Linked DNA regions of Homo sapiens: region 1 is linked to region 2. The links are contacts of gene promoters, found by promoter capture Hi-C in human tissues and cell types (Jung and others, 2019). All regions are on one chromosome and are shown on one strand. The core of a region is centred on a gene start or on the middle of the fragment in contact, and the rest is flanking DNA. Distances in the headings are between cores, read along the strand shown.

What was found. The method cuts DNA at HindIII sites, captures the fragments that hold promoters and counts their contacts. A contact is called where the count stands out against the background at its distance.
Region 1: a contact is called between the fragment with the promoter of ZNF136 here and a fragment that was not itself captured in region 2, in 2 of the 25 tissues and cell types used here (bladder and heart right ventricle).

Annotation. Positions count from the first base shown.
Region 1 is chr19:12,161,787-12,164,486 of GRCh38, reverse strand. It overlaps ZNF136 (zinc finger protein 136), which reads right to left and starts at 1,391. Exons shown (of 4, transcript NM_003437.5): 1 at 1,281-1,391. The coding sequence starts at 1,283. RefSeq lists enhancers at 1,291-1,450, 1,461-1,550. The HindIII fragment of the contact is 18,447 bases long and covers 1-2,700 here.
Region 2 is chr19:12,044,947-12,047,646 of GRCh38, reverse strand. It overlaps ZNF878 (zinc finger protein 878), which reads left to right. Exons shown (of 4, transcript NM_001080404.3): 2 at 887-1,013; 3 at 1,219-1,279; 4 at 2,438-2,700. It overlaps ZNF433-AS1 (ZNF433 and ZNF878 antisense RNA 1), which reads right to left. Exons shown (of 3, transcript NR_134929.1): 3 at 1,372-1,565. Among named protein-coding and RNA genes, the nearest start is that of ZNF878, 6.7 kb to the left of the region's middle. The HindIII fragment of the contact is 5,656 bases long and covers 1-2,700 here.

The DNA of each region.
Region 1 (2,700 bases), core at 142-2,641, 120 kb before region 2:
TGGGCGACAGAGAGACTCCGTCTCAAAAAAAAAAAAAAAAAAAAAAAGTTATCTGGGAGTGGTGGCGCAAAACTGTGGTCCCAACTACAGGGGAGGCTGAGGCAGGAGAATCGCTTGAACCCAGAAGATGGAGGTTGCAGTGAGCCGAGATCACGTCACTGCACTCCAGCCTAGGCGACAGAGCGAGACTCTTTCAAAACACACAAAAAATTTTCTTTTCTCAATCCTCAATACCAGCATCTGATTGGCTGACCACCAGTGTGTCTCCAAAGGATGGAAACTGGGGTTGGGGGAGGAAAAGCTGAGTGCCCCCAGAGGTTGGCTATTTAGAAGCAGGGTATGCTAGATTTATCCTAGTCCCAGGGCATTCTCCCAGCCTTCTATTTCAACTGTCCTCTAGGAAGACTCACCCAAGACCCAATATTCACTAGATCCTCCAAGAGACTTGGCAGCTGTGGGCAGCTTGAGTCAGCCCCAGACAGTTTTGAAACCCAGAACCAGGAAAAAATAAATAGGAGGGGGCGCTGAAGGCATATCACCCTGTAAAGATTCCAAAGGGGAACCTCAACTCAAAGACATTCTGATGAGGTATCTGTGCATAGAGGAGACAAAAGGACAAGCACAAAGGTTTCTTACAGCGGAGTGTCAAGGCTATGAACAGAAAACAAACCTTGATGAAAGAGTAATCCATTGCTTTGTTGAAAAATAAACAATGAAAGCACAATATCTGAAATGTAGAATATAGGAGAAACGGTTGCTAATGTCGTGAATGGAAGGGGAGAGGTTGGCGTTTGGAAAAGCGAAAAGAGAACAGGAAATTTGGGGATTTACTGCAAGCCCTGGAAACAGCAGGCTGGGGGACAGAGTGAGGATTTGGGACCCTGCATCCCATACACTTAGAAAACTCAGGGAAAAACGGGTGTCCTCTGTGGAGAGAAAAGGAACTGGGAACCTCATACACCACAGCTCCTTCCACGCACAAGTCAGGATTTCCCCCACCCCATGACCCTCGCGTGGGCCCCGCACAATCTGAAGAGACTTGGGTCTTCGGGGCCGGGGCCGCAATCGCGGCACAGGGCGGGACGAGGACGCCCGGGGTCCCGGCTGCCGGCCCAGCCCCACCCTGAGGCCGAGGGTACCAAGGGCTGAGCTGCGCCAGAGGGACTCGGTACGCAGACCCAGAGTCGCCCACGGGAAGGCCCGGGCCGCGCCACAGCCAGTTCCGGTCGTCCAACCAGCCCCTCCTCCCTGTCTCGGGACGCAGGGCCCGACACACTCACCATTTCCTGACTCCCGGGTGTCCCAGCTTCCTCCCTCCGGATCCCAAGGCAGGTACAGGAAACCGCGCCACAGAGACTCCAGGCGAGCCACTCTGGGCCTCTGGGACTAGCGAAGCGAAACCAAGTACGGCAGACGCGAGAAATGAAAATCCCGCGAGAAGGTTGAACGTCTGCAGCTGCGTCCCCGACGGCGCGCCTGATTGGACCGATCGCAGAGCTCCTCCCCGGTGCCCCTGATTGGGTACAGCTTCGGGCTCTGCCCCCTGCATCTTGACAGATGTGAATGACAGGAGATGTGAAGCATAGATGAGTGAAGCGGGAATGAGGGGTCTTGGCCCCAGCCCTCAAACGCAGGGTGGACTTCTTCCCCTCGTCCCCTTCACTGTACTTGGTCTGCGGGGGATGGGGAGATGGGAGATACTTGCATTTTAGCAGAACTTAATCCGGGTTTACCAAAGGAGATACTTCCTGTACTCAGTGGGTCATTTCTTCATCTACCTCTTGCATGAGGAGTCACAGGTGTGCGCAGGGAGTTCCAGGCAGGACTGGAACAGAAGAAAGGGCGTGATATTCCCAGGGATCGGAAATTTGGGATGAGGATATGGGAAGCGTGCCCAAGGCTTTCTCATACCATACCTCTTTATCTCTCTCTATTTTTTACTTTATTTACTTATTTATTACTTTATTTACTTATTTATTACTTTATTTATTTATTTGAGACAGGGTCTAGCTCTGCCACCCAGGTTAGAGTGCAATGGCATGATCATAGCTCACTGCAGCCTCCATCTCCTGGGTTCAAGCGAACCTTCCGCTTCAGTCCCCTGAGTAGTAGAGACTACAGGTACATGCCACCAAGCCCGGCAAATTCTTTAATTTTTTGTAGAGACGGGATTTCGTTTGTTGTCCAGGCTGGTCTTGAACTCCTAGCCTCAAGTGAACCTCCCACTTTCGCCTCCCAAATCAATCTACTCATTTTCACCCAAGAAAATAAAAAACTGCCAACAAGTGAATAAAATTATTAAATACATGGAAAAACAAGTTCTATTTCCGTAATCTGTAAAGAAATCAAAAGGGAAGTAAAGCGAAAATTTGAACTAGCTCAGATAAGCAGGGCACTTCAGAACATTTAAAAAGGAAAAGATGAATTCAGAAGGTAGAACATATTCCCAAGCTTAAGAGTCAGTGACTGCTGAAGTGGAGCCACAGAGTACATTAGACCCTGATGATGAGGCAGGAAACCTAAGGATTTAACTCTGGGAGCTCAACATGCCCTCCTGTCACAGCATCACAATGTGGGAACGCTCCCTCCTTCAATACCTTAATAATTTACACCAGCAGAAAACTCTCACCTGTGGTCAATTTAGGCCCCTTGAAATTCCAACCTCTCTAGCTCATAAACCATTTCTCTGGAACGCTACCT
Region 2 (2,700 bases), core at 89-2,588:
TTCCCAGAAAGGTTTCTTTTTGTGAGTTTTTGTTTTAGTTAGTTATGACTCTCTTATCAATTAGAATTTTTTTTTTTTTTTAACCGATGGAGTCTGGCTCTGTCACCCAGGCTGGAGTGTGGTGGCACGTTTTTGGCTCACTGCAACCTCTGCCTCATGGGTTCAAGTGATTCTCCTGCTTCAGTCTCCCAAGTAGCTGGAATTACAGGAGCCCATCACTATGCCTGGCTAATTTTATTATTTTTAGTAGAGACGGGGTTTTGCCATGTTGGCCAGGTTGGTCTCAAACTCCTGACCTCAGGCGATCCGCCCGCCTTCACCTCCCAAAGTGCTGAGATTTATAGGCATGAGCCACCGTGCCTGGCCAGACTCTCTTATCAGTTAGATTAATAAAGCCCCTTGCCAAACCCAGTTTTTTTGTTTTTGGCTTCTGCTACTGGAATCAGAAGAAAACCCACTTTCTAGTCATCACAAAGGTTCAACTTTGTGAACAGGCGTTTTCAAGAATATGCAGGCTTAGGGCTGCTCACGTTAAATTTGTTTTGCTCAGAAATTCAAAGGAGTTTGTTAAGATAGGTGCTGCAGATCCACACTTCGGACATTAAGGGCAGTCCAGGCAGCACGACTTTCTCCCTGGACTCACCAGAAACACACATTTTTCCTATTCTGCTGTTGCTTTACCCCATCCAGAGTTCAACTCTAGCATCAAAATTGTTTTATGGAAGAAAGTGAGTGTAGACAGAGTAAGGGATCTGATGACCAAGTCATGGAATAAATGTTTGGAGTCCACACACCACAGCATCCTGAGAACTTCCTAGGAATAGGGTATAGAAACCCAGTGCTGTCAGCCTCACTCATCCTCCTGTCCACATGTGGGATATTTCAGGATTCGGTGGCCTTTGAGGATGTGGCTGTGAACTTCACCCAGGAGGAGTGGGCTTTGCTGGATCCTTCCCAGAAAAATCTCTACAGGGAAGTGATGCAGGAAACCTTGAGGAACCTGACCTCCATAGGTAAGAATGACAGTATTACTTCCCTCAGTGAATTAAAGAACAGGTGTTTCTAGCTCATCAGTGCTGTTGAGTGATTTGGAATATGGTCAGGGAATACTTTGAATAAATGAGACACAGGTGCAATGAGCCATGGACATAGAATCAAGTAACTTTTTAAAATAATTTTATACTAATTCAGGACTATTTTTCTGGGTCCGCATTTTAGGAAAAAAATGGAACAACCAGTACATTGAAGATGAGCACCAAAATCCTAGGAGAAACCTAAGGTAACTGGCACTTAAAAGAGAAAACAATGTCTCTGTATACAATCTTAGAATGGAAGAAAAGGTTAAAAAGAAGCAAGCATAAGAAACAAACCTAGTTCCAATGTATTTATTCTTAGAAAAGCTTCCCTAGAAACATATAAAGTGTGACATGGCTTATGTGTATAATCCAGCCCTTTTGGAGGTCAGGATGGAAGATCGCTTGAACCTGGGAGTTTGAGGTTGCACTGAGTCATGATGGCATCACTGGAGGGCAGCCTGGGCCACAGGGTGAGACCCTGACTCAAAACTAAACAGACAAAAAGACAAAGACCGTATTTATAAAATAGTCTACTTTAAAATAGCATGTAAAAGCTGGACATGGTGGCTCACACCTGTAATCCCAGCACTTTGGAAGGCTGAGGTGGGTGGATCATGAGGTCAAGAGATTGAGACCATCCTGGCCAACATGGTGAAAGCCTGTCTCTACTAAAAATACGAGAAATTAGCTGGGCGTGGTGGTGCGTGCCTGTAGTCCTTGGGAGGCTGAGGCAGGAGAATCGCTTGAACCTGGGAGGCGGAGGTTGCAGTGAGCCAGGATGGTGCCACTGCACTCCAGCCTGACGACAGAGTGAGACTTGGTCTCATAAATAAATAAATAAATAAATAAAGCATTTAAAATCCCTGTATCAATATTATCTTTTTTGATAAGAGATATGGCTGGGCCATCTTTGTTTGTTTGTTTGAGACAGTGTCTCGCTCTGTCACCCAGGCTGGAGTGCAGCGGTGTGATCTCGGCTCACTGTAAGCTCTGCCTCCCGGGTTCACACTATTCTCCTGCCTCAGCCTCCCCGTAGCTGGGACTGCAGGCACCTGCCACCACGCCCGGCTAATTTTTTGTATTTTTTAGTAGAGACAGGGTTTCACCATGTTAGCCAGGATGGTCTCGATCTCCTGACCTCATGATCCACCCTCCTCGGCCTCCCAAAGTGCTGGGATTACAGGCGTGAGCCACCATGCCTGGCCTGGCTAGGCCATCTTGTATAGCATGTGTTCCATTCATGTTCAGACAGGACAGAAAGCCTACACTTTGCTGGGCACTGTTAAAAATGCAAGTGTAATACTTGCAAAGGAATTAAAATTAGTGATAAACCCATTATAATGTGCTTTCATTGTTCACAGAAGACTTATAGGGGAGAGACTCTCTGAAAGTAAAGAAAGTCATCAGCATGGAGAAGTTTTGACACAGGTTCCAGATGACACACTGAAGAAGAAAACTCCTGGAGTACAATCATATGAAAGCAGTGTGTGTGGAGAAATCGGCATAGGTCTTTCATCCCTTAATAGGCACCTCAGAGCCTTTAGTTATTCCAGTAGCCTTGCAATACATGGAAGAACTCACACTGGGGAAAAGCCTTATGAATGTAAGGAATGTGGGAAAGCAT